3 separate regions of the Homo sapiens genome follow, and all the other regions are linked to region 3. The links are contacts of gene promoters, found by promoter capture Hi-C in blood cells and fetal thymus (Javierre and others, 2016). All regions are on one chromosome and are shown on one strand. The core of a region is centred on a gene start or on the middle of the fragment in contact, and the rest is flanking DNA. Distances in the headings are between cores, read along the strand shown.

Region 1 (3,314 bases), core at 1-2,500, 1.0 Mb after region 3:
AAAATCGAAAAATCGAAAGTGGAGCAATAAATACTAATACATATTTAAATATATTTTAAAATATGCTAAGGATTTGGAGTCATAAAGAAACTTATGAATTGTGGGATCCTGATTCCTGGCTGATTACCAAATCTCACTAAGTCTTTGTTTCTTTCATGTTTAAAGTGAGGATAATAATATCCTTATCACAGGACTTTTGGGGTAGCTAAAATAGTTTATGTAAAGGTCTTATCTTAGTGCTGACACATAATAAGTACTCAGTAAATGTTAACTACTACTAATATTTATGTATAACAAGATTTAGCTTGGGTTCCATTTGTGATTTAGCCTGCAATTTGAAATAATAGCTGATTAATTCTCTGAAACATTAGCTTCCATAATTGTTAATATTTAGCTGAAATTTAGCAGATACAAAAAAAAAAGTAATGTAAACTTGTAAAAAAAAATGGATTATATGAATAAAGCTTGAGATAACCCAGAAGAGAAACTTTAAGTTTTGCAGATGATCTCGTTCAGGTGACTATTTGTGAAGTTTAAAAGCAGATGAAAGCAACTATGTCTCATAGTGTACCAGGCTATGCAGTCATAGATGTATATTTTATTAAGGGCTACTAGATACAACTAAACAAAGTAAACCTTAATGTATAGAGTTTTGCATATCATTCTACTTTTAACAGCAATATTCAAATGGTAATGGATATTTAATCCTTTCATTCTAAAATATCTGTGATATTTCAGATGTCTGGTGAGAGCTGTTGAATTCATTATTCTAGAATATCTGTGAATTTATGATTCTAAAGTTTTTCTGAACGGCAGAGGTCTGAGAATTTGATGAAAGCCTTCAAAAAAGTTTTAAAAAACGTATAATTTTGCATACAATTACAACTTTTGAGGCTCACAGACTCTTGGAAATAATTTTTAAAAACCTAGCTAATCAATCCCAGATTATGGGCCCTTGGGCTGTAATTCTTAAAGGAATGAGTTGTTTTTTTAAACTTTTTGAGATGGAGTCTCATTCTGTTGCCCAGGCTGGAGTGCAGTGGTGCAATCTTGGCTCACTGCAACCTCCACGTTTCAAGCGATTCTCCTGCCTCAGCCTCCTGAGTAGCTGGGACTACAGGCACGCACCACCAAACCCGGCTAATTTTTGTATTTTAGAGACAGCGTTTCACTATATCAGCCGGGCTGGTCTCAAACTCCTGACCTCGTGATCTGCCTACCTCAGCCTCCCAAAGTGCTGGGATTACAGGCATGAACCACCACGCCCAGCCAAAGGAATGAATTTTACAAAGATTCTCTTGAGGATATCTTCAGGATGACTTATATGGGATATATGGGAAAATTTGGAATAGCTAGAACTTCCTCGACCTCCCTGGTAATCTGCATTATTTCTCATGATTTGGTTGGGAGTACCTTGATGACACTTCTATCAGGGAGGTACTAGGACAGCAAGGTTTGTGGTCACTATAAAGCCCTTGAACTGAGATTTTGGATCTTTGTTATAGGTCTTTCTGTTAGAAAACAGCCTTGAACTCTCATTACATTTTTCATATGGTTATATTATGGGATCACATTTACTCAGAATAATGGTGTTTCTATTCCAAATTAATCTTCCAGAGTTTGGATACTTTTTATTTTTTATTTTTTATTTTAGAGACAGGGTCTCAGGGTCTCACTCTGTTGCACAATTTGGAGTGCAGTGCTGTGATCATAGCTCACTGCAGCCTTGAACTCCTGGTCTCAAGCAATCTTCCCACCTCAGCCTCCTGAGTAGCTGGGACTACAGTGTCAAGCCACCACATCTAGCTTTTTTTTTTTCCTTCATTTTTTGTAGAATCGGCATCTCACTATGTTGCCCAGGCTTGTCTTGAACTCCTCCTCCCTTGGCCTCCCAAAATTCTGGGATTACAGGTGTGAGCCATGGCACCTGGCAGAGTTTGAATATTTTAAAGCCAAGAGCATGCATGTATGTGTAGTTTAGTGAGTGCATATATAAACACATATATATGTATTAATATAATTGCAATCTAAGCTTTAAAATATTGCCCACTAAAGCATACAAACTGCCATGAATCTACTCATGCAGTACAAGGGAAGACTATGAGTACAGCCAGAACCTCAATTCTGGAAAATATACTAAAGTCATCTCTATGCTTAAGGCTTTATCTCTGCCGCCTAACAGTACACTATCATGGGATATACTCATTTTTGTTTCAGTCATCTCTCAGGAATTGAAGTCTTGACCCATATCTTAAAATGGTGACTAGGGTCCTGTTACAGGTTTACCTACTTCCACAATGTCAATTGCCTGCCTGCCTACCTACTGAACCTCTGGATGTCATCTTGGCTCCAGCATTTCTGTGTTATACACATTGAATAACCTGCTAGTGCATAATTCTACAAAAAAGAATACACTCTTCTGCCTAGCAGACTATTTCCTGCCCACACCTGATGCTGAGGCCATTCTCCCCAGCCCTTGCCTGGACCCCTTGCCTGGGCTGTCAGTGTTCAGTTCTGCAGTGGCTAGCTGGGTCATGACTAATCATGCTTGAGTTTAGACCAAACCCCTATCTCATTCCCTTAATGAGAATTGTTTTAATTTATCCATTCCTCAATCCAACCTACAACTGCTGAGTTCCTACCACCTATGTTAAAACTGTAGAACAAACATTATCCCTACCTAATTCATGCCATAGTTTACTGTATTTTTTCGAAAGATTTAAAATATTTTTAGAGCAGACTTAAATACATAACATGGAATGATAGAAAGATTACCTAAAACTTGACAACCCCAAACCAACTAATATGTTTTATAAACATTTATTCATCTGGAGCTACTTCTTTACAACAGCGGTAATTTTGCCCCGCAGATGATATTTGCAATGTCCGGTGGTGTTTCTGGTTGGCTTAGTACATAGTATGGGGGAGGGTGTGGGAAACTGTTGCTACTGGCATCCAGGTTGTAGAGGCCGGGGATGCTGCTAAACATTCTACAACTTACAGGATAGCTCCCCACAAAAAAGGAATTATCCTGCCCAAAACGTCAATATTGCCAAAGTTGAGAAACCCTGCTTTAAACAAACTTTTTAGGTCAGCCTTTGAAGGTATTGAGGTGGGAAGTGTTGCTTGCTGCCATTTGGTGATATTTGTTGGTCTACGTACCATTTATTTCTATATTTAGAATTTTAGTTTTTATAATACACCTGGGGAAATGATGCTAGATGTTCATATGGAAAACATTTTTCCACTTAAAGTAAAATCTTTCAATGTATACAAAACCAGGGAAAGTCAACAGGTAAGTAAGCATGTCAGAC
Region 2 (3,737 bases), core at 192-2,691, 1.3 Mb after region 3:
TTAAATTTTCTAAACAATATAGAAAAATTCCAGTAAAGACAAGAAATTAGAAATATCAAATTGGTATATGAGTAATGTGAATGGTAATGAACAAATAATTATGGAAAATTTATATGTGGTGAATCTCCATGTAATCCAAAACAACACATTAATTACTTATTTGTAAGATCCACTACCTCAATAAAAATTCAATTTTACCAGAAATATTCTCAAGCATAGGAAGAAGCAGGTTTTGTGCAGGATCCATATGAAATGGTAAAAAAAAAAAAAAAAGAAAAAGAATCGAAAAGAGTAAATTTTTAAAAATCGTATTCTATTTTTTCAGAATTAACTAAAACATTTTAGTCAGAAAAATAATGAAGCTGATAGACCCTGGATTATTTCCTAAGGTAAAAATGAGTCAGCAATGTTTTAAAAACAAGAAAATGTAACTTACATATATGACAGTGTTAGACTTAGAAAAGCTTAGGGTCCAAAATAGCTTGGAGAAAATTAAGAAAATGGGAAATCAGTTCCTTACTTATAAATTTTAACTTGGACTTTGGTGACAGGGACAGACTATGAGTTTCCCATATGAAAGAGTCCATTACCTGTGGCATTTGTACACTAAACATCCAGTAAGGAACTAGTCTGGGCTTTCCTAGATGCAAGAAATCAATTTGTTCATGTGGACTCAGAATTTCTTCACCCTTTGAAAGGTATGAATGACCAGGTGTAGAGGTGTGTCCATGTGTACTTACTTATAAGCCATCAGGGTGGTTTAAAATGGATGGTTGAACTTCTGATTAAATAGAGAAGCTGCACAGTAACACTCAGTGGCTTTGTTATCTTACTGATTAGTACACAATTCCTGGTTCCACAGCCATGCAGACGTGCTGACAGCACTTACTTGCCCTCAGAGCTGTAACTGTTGATGCTGCCATCAGTAGACTCTCGGCTCGGCTGCCTTACCATCTTTCTCATTTCAGCTGCCATGCCTGTTTCTGTGCTTCTCTGGATGGTACTTTTTAACTTTTTGTGGCCCGACTCTGACAGGAGAGAGTAAAAGAAACTCTAAGTTTTATTTAGACAGTTTACTCCTGAATATCAATTGATCCTGCAAATACAATAGTTAATTTTACACATAATTACAAATTTAATCAGAAAAATAGTAACCTAAGGGAGTACTTTGCTTGATTCAGGCTCCTTGCCAAAGTATGCTTGGCTAAGGGGAGTACCACTGGATGCTATGCCATGGCCACAGTTTCAGTGACTGCCTAAATCTCAATCAGCCAAAATGAAATCATTGTATTATTGATGGTGACAACTTCAATGAAAATCTGAATTTGGCACCCAACTGTTCTGTGGAAAGATAATGGTGAACAATCTAATAGGTTTCTCCTAATACGGAATTCACTAAATGTGTATGAATAGTCCCAAAGGACAGGTCGTGTTCTTTTAAGGAGAAGGTGCATTTGGAACCCAGTTTGAAAAATACCACAGTTTTACTGTCACGTATCAGCAATCCTCATGAAGAGAAACTAGTATTTTAATTGATGATTTTTGCAGCACTTTAACATACACTATATAATATTTATACTTATTTCTACTCCATATAGATTATGGAGTTAGGTGTAACAGGTTTTATCTTAATTCAAAGACTACACAGCTACCTCATGGCCTTTTGACTCAGCTGCATGAGTTCTGACTGGCAGTTTGGGGTGTACACCTCCATTTGTACTGGGAATTACATACATTTGCATTTCAGTTCTTGATAAGCTCAGAGGAATTTTCTTGAGCCACTTTGAAATGCACTAACCAGCATTCTATTCATAGCATGGAAATAAATTCTAAAATATTTACTTGCTTACATGTATAAGCAGTATCAATAGGTTAGGAAAACTGTTAGACTTTATTCCATCTATACGTCCTATATAAATTTCTGGTTTTCGCTTTAGTTTCTGTATAGTATCATATAATACCCATTAATAATATATGAAAAATGCTCTATATACATAATTACATACATAACTACTATATAAACACATTAACTTTTCAATCCACATAAAACCTTTACAAAGCAGGTACCTAAATACACTCTTAGATAAGCCATTTGAAACACTGCATTTTTTCCCTCTCATTTTTGGTCACTGGATTCCTTTTGTAAATTGTCTAATCAAAGATATAATAGGTTATGCTATATGAACTTAATGCTGATCCTTCCTACACATTTAGTATGTTCATTAAAATTTTTATTTTTTATTGTTCTTAACCTTTTTATTGCTATTTTTGCTTACAAAGACAATATATGTATATTACAAAATATTTAAATGTTACAGAAATTGCCAACATTGAATGCCCCCTATAATTTCACCACTCAAGGAAGACAATGGTTAGTAATTTGGGAACTATTTTTTCTTTATACCTATACAAGCTTCTTCACTTGGCTACTGTGATCCACATTCTCCGTTTTTCCTTCTTTGACATTGGTTGTTACTTCCCAGTCTCTTCTGCTGGATTTTTCCTCTTTGAGATTTTTAGAAATAGACAATCCCTAGACCTCAGGCCTCAGACCTTTTGCTTTCTTCTACACTTACTTCCTAGGTGATCTCTAACATAGCTTTAACATAGCTAACAAAGCCACCTATGCCCTTGTGCCTCCCAAATATACATCAAGGTCTTAACCTTTCCCATAAATGCTGAAGTCATTAATCCAATTGCCTAGTAGCTCCATTTACAGATCTGATAGGCACTTCAACATTAACATATCCAAGACAGAACTCTTCCCCACCTCCACCACACTACCACCTCCCACTACTAAATCCTCCTCCCACAGTAAATGGTACTACAATTCACTTGGGTGATAAGGCCTAAATCCTTGTAATCATCTTTGATTCCTCTAACACACCCCACACCCAATCCATCAGCGAATCCTCTTGGCTTTGCCTTCAAAATGCATCACAAGTCTGGTCATTCTTCTTCCTCTCCACAGCTCCAACCCTATGTCCAGACACTATCATCACTCAAAAGAGCAGTGCCATACCCGTACAGCTAGTGTCACTGCTTCTATTCCTTTCCTCCTCAGAATATTCTTGACATAACAGCCATGGTGAGTCTTTAAAAATGTAAATCTGAATATATCATTCCCCTGCTCAAGATCTTATAATGATTAATCACCAAAGTAAAATGAAAATCCAAAATTGTTATCGTGGCCCAGGAAATGCCATATCATCTGGTCCTTGGACACCTCACATCTCATCTTCTGCCCCTCATTCCATATGATCAATGCTCTCCAGTCACACTGTCTTCCCTGCATTTCCTCAAGCCTGCAAGCATGCTGCTTCTGGGCCTTTTTTACTTCTGTTTGTCTCTTCTGACTTTCTTGCCTTGCTCCTTATTCAGATTTCTGCTTCAAGACAGGCTGTCTCCTCAGGGAGGCTTTGTATAGTATCCCTTTGCTGTGCTTTATTTTTCTTCACAGCACTGCTTCATCTGCCATTAAACCTTTATCTGTTTGTGGTCTGTTTTCCAATTAGAATTTAATTTCTATGTGAGCAGGGTCATTGTGAGTATTGTTCACTGTTATTCCTCGTATCTAGAACAGGGGTATAAACTGTTGATAGTGAAATCACACCACATATACTAATGTGCAATTTTCACATTCCATTTAATATAATGTAACACAAACAGGTATATATTTATTCTTTTTAAAGATTGCACTATTCCACTTTATGACTATGTGGTTCATCATTAAACCA
Region 3 (4,014 bases), core at 849-3,348:
GAAACGCAAATTAAGTATGAACTTCAGTTAATAATTATCTATACTGGCTCGTTAGTTATGATATATGCATGATACTAATGTAAGATCTTAATAATAGGTCAAACTAAGCAAAGGGTATGGAGAACTCACTGTACTATCTTTGCAACGTTTATGTAAACCTAAAATTTCTAAAATAAAAAATATTAAAAAAAAGAATTCCTCTGGTTTGAAGTCTTTCAAGTCTGTTGCAACTATATTCCCTGGCCCAAGTTATCTATAACCTTGGTCATCTGGGAGCTTGTTAGCAATACAGAATCTCAGGCACATCCCAGATGTACTGGGCTTCTCAGAGAAACAGCCCCAATTGGGTAGTTTGGGTAATAAAGTTTTGGCTTTCACAATATAGGCTGGCCAACTCGACCCAAAACAGATGATGGTGCACATGCCTGGAGACCCAGGAGGACCTGTGGTGCAGATGAAGTCTGAGGACACTCTGCTGGAGAAGTCTCCCTTGCTTGGGCAAGAGAAGTGGGGGAGTCGGATTTTTTATTCTAGATAGGCCTTCAACTGATTGAAGGAAGCCCACCCAGATTATGGAAGGCAGCCATCTTTACCCAGAGTTCAATGATTTTAGTGTTAACCTCATCCAAAGACAACCAGCAAGTTAACACATAAAATTAACCATCACACCAGATCTGCTGAATCTGAATCTACATTTTAAAAGGATTTGCCAGGTGACTCTGCATAATCCAGTTTGAAAATTGCATTTTTCTACAACCCTTAGAGAGTGTAAAAATCTACATGGTAATTCAGTAACTCAGAAACAAGGCTTGATTTGCTGCTTTAACTTGAGAACTTTTCTAGCATTTACTGATCTGGAGGTAGGGATGCCTACAGAAATCCTCGCCCTCCCTTCTAGGTAAAGGACCCTCCCCTTTGTTCTCACGTGAACCTCACTAAGCTTCTAACCTGGTTTACTGAATTAGTGGCTTGTGGGTCTTCCCTGTCTACACCAAACTCTCCGAGAGCATCTACATCTTATTTTCTACCTCCACAGAGACAGCCTTTATTGGCGGATCCAGATCTGCCCTGCCAAGGCAAGCTGGGTTTTCCTAGTTTCACTTTCAGAGTCCGCAAATGCTAGCACAATCTATCCAAATTCTATCGTGGAGATAAAGCATGCACACATACATCAGAGGATTCCATAGGTCGAACCATATGAAACTACCTATGTTGATTACTTTTACCTATAAAACCAGCAACATCATAGGACTCAACAAATTTCCATTGCTGTTTTTCCGCCTAAAAGCTATTTTAGGACCAGGAGCAGTGGCTCACGCCTGTAATCCCAGCACTTTGGGAGGCCGAGGAGGATTGCTTGAGCCCAGGAGTTCGAAACCAGCTTGGGCAATATAATAAGACCAAGCCTCTACAAAAATAAAAAGTAGAAACAAAATTAGCCAGATGTGGTGGCATGCTCCTGTAGTCCCAGCTACTTGGGGGAGCTGAAGAGAATCGCTTGAGTCCAGGAGTTGGAGGTTGCAGTGAGCTGCGATTGCGCCACTGCATTCCAGCTTGGGCAACAGAGCAAGACCCTGCCTGGGAGAAAAAAAAAAAAAAAAAAAAGCTATTTTAGGGACAATATGCCGCCACAGTCACGAGGTAAATATGCCGCCACAGTCACGAGGTAGATCGTACAAAGGTTGCTAACAGTATGGCAACTGACCGCTAACAAGCGAATGTCAAGTTGTGAAATGCACACCACCCACTTCCCTAGTTCGGTCGAAGCCCTCCCCTTAATTATGTGCAATTCAAGTCCCCACTGCCCGCCCGCAAGCCCCCACTCATCCTCGCTGCGGGCAGGGTGGCCCCTGCACTTTACAAGGGGGTGCAGGAGCGGGAGACGGTCGTCCGAACACCGGCTCCCCGGCATGCGTAGACCGGCGGGCGGAGCGGGCTCACTTTGCGCCAATCCTACGAGAACTCCCAGAACTCCGCTTCCCTAGTCCAACCCAAGCCAGAGTTGCCCACACCTAAGATGGCGGCGGGGGCGGAGTCGGCGCGGCCGCCTCTGGGCGGGACCGCGGGGACTAGACGTGGCCGCGGGGCGGTGTCATCGCCCCCGCCCCGCCCGGTCCAGCCAGCTCGGCCCGGGGGCTTCGGGCTGTCGGGCCGGCGCTCCCTTCTCTGCCAGGTGGCGAGTACACCTGCTCACGTAGGCGTCATGAGGTCTCCGGTTCGAGACCTGGCCCGGAACGATGGCGAGGAGAGCACGGACCGCACGCCTCTTCTACCGGGCGCCCCACGGGCCGAAGCCGGTAAGCGGCGGGGTCGTCCAGGGGCTTCGAGTGGGCAGCGGTACCGGGGGCGGCGGTCTCTGGGCCGGCATGGCCCGGGTACCCGCACCCTGCGCCGGCGGGACCGGAGCTGCTCAGGCGCGAGGGGACATTAAGAGGGGAGCCCGTTCAGAGTGCCGCTCAGTCCCGCCTGCCTCGGTGCGCAGAAGCCCCTCGGGAACCCCGGGGGCCGCGACCGTGATCGCGGAGCCGAGCCGGGGCCTCGGCAGGTGCAGCCCCACCGGGCGGGGGCGGGGGCGGGGGCGGGGGCGGGGGAGCGGCGGTGCAGCCGGCGCTGAGCTGGTGGTTATTTTGGGTAGTGCTGAGCAAGGGACCCAGTGGAAGAACGAACTGGGAGAGAATCATCAAATGAATGGGCTAAGGTCCGAGCGGAGGACCCCGGTGTAAGAGCAAACTGGAGGAGAAACCTGCAGATCAGTAGGCAGAGGGCTGTCCTTCCCTGTCACCGCTAGGTTTCCGCCACTGCGTATCCGCCAGCATGTGACCTGGTAGCTTCTTAGGCGGGGAGGGAAGACAAAAAAGGACTGGAGTTAACATTTGTGAGTATGCAGAGGGCAACTATTGTATAACCCAGCTGATATCTTGACATTGTGCAGTAAGAGACTAAAAACATCGAGGACATTTTTTTTCCGTCTGGCAGTCTATGATTTAAGTTAGGAAAAGGTTCAGTTATCCTCAAGATACCTATGGAGTTCTAAAGTAATTTGCCAAAGGTCTTGGAACAAATCGAAAAGCAGGTACGTCATAAAGCATCTTCCCTGAATTTGAGAAAATTAAAATATTTTGCTATTTGACACTTTTGTAATATAGTTTATTTAAAAGTAACGAAAACTAAAGAACAAATCAGTTTGAATGCATTCTATAGTTTCAAAGATCTGTGCGTGAGAAAGAGTTGTGTTGGAAATTTGACTTTGGCTAACCCAGAATTGTATAGTTTCTATATTTTTATTTGTTTTTAATGTTACCAGATGGTGGCAGTAGAGGTGGCAACCTTATAGCTCCATCTGGCAGCCGGGAGCTTATTTTAGTCAACACAAACTGTAAATACCATACCATAGTTACGTTTTACCTGGAAGTCGGACTTAGTTCCATAAACTGATCATTTTCTGTGGCTTGTAGTGTTCAAATTGTATAATATTCCTCATAAAATAATATAGAAATACAGAAATAAAAGTTATAATAAAGATATTTGCCAGAGATTATTACATTGTTACAATTGAAAAATATGTATATGTATAATCAAAATTTAGCACAAATGTTAAACATTATTCTCAGGAAAATGCAGATTAAAATTACAACGAGGCACTATACACCCACTAGAATAGCTAAAATCCAAAAGGCTGATAATACCAAATGTTAGCAGAGATGTGGATAGAAAAGTTATACATCTCAATAAAGATTGAGATGGACAAATGTATACATTTATCACGTAAATTATACTTCAATAAAGTTGATTTTTAAAAAAGTAGCTTATAGCATCCCTTTTAAAAACAATCCCTACTTGATTCATGTGTTGAGTGTATGGATCTTATGGTACTGGCCCTGTCCTTCCTGGCTTTAGGTGGCTACGTTTGTTACAACCATTTCCTTTTTTATTTTCCCTCTTTACATACCCACTGGAGAGCAAGTGAAGTGGAAATAATAGTAACATACTGTTTTTGCTATTTAGAATATGATA

What was found. The method cuts DNA at HindIII sites, captures the fragments that hold promoters and counts their contacts. A CHiCAGO score of 5 or more calls a contact.
Region 1: a fragment that was not itself captured here is called in contact with the fragment with the promoter of SLC17A5 in region 3 in 1 of 17 cell types (naive CD8 T cells); the score reaches 5.8 in naive CD8 T cells.
Region 2: a fragment that was not itself captured here is called in contact with the fragment with the promoter of SLC17A5 in region 3 in 1 of 17 cell types (total B cells); the score reaches 5.5 in total B cells.

The regions. Positions count from the first base shown.
Region 1 is chr6:72,609,823-72,613,136 of GRCh38, reverse strand. No RefSeq gene overlaps it. Among named protein-coding and RNA genes, the nearest start is that of KCNQ5, 11 kb to the left of the region's middle. The HindIII fragment of the contact is 1,568 bases long and covers 467-2,034 here.
Region 2 is chr6:72,387,889-72,391,625 of GRCh38, reverse strand. RIMS1 (regulating synaptic membrane exocytosis 1) reads right to left here. Exons shown (of 34, transcript NM_014989.7): 30 at 890-1,028. Among named protein-coding and RNA genes, the nearest start is that of KCNQ5, 230 kb to the left of the region's middle. RefSeq lists a silencer at 712-912. The HindIII fragment of the contact is 1,949 bases long and covers 467-2,415 here.
Region 3 is chr6:73,652,076-73,656,089 of GRCh38, reverse strand. SLC17A5 (solute carrier family 17 member 5) reads left to right here and starts at 2,098. Exons shown (of 11, transcript NM_012434.5): 1 at 2,098-2,297. The coding sequence starts at 2,204. RefSeq lists an enhancer at 894-983 and a silencer at 1,983-2,652. The HindIII fragment of the contact is 4,556 bases long and covers 943-4,014 here.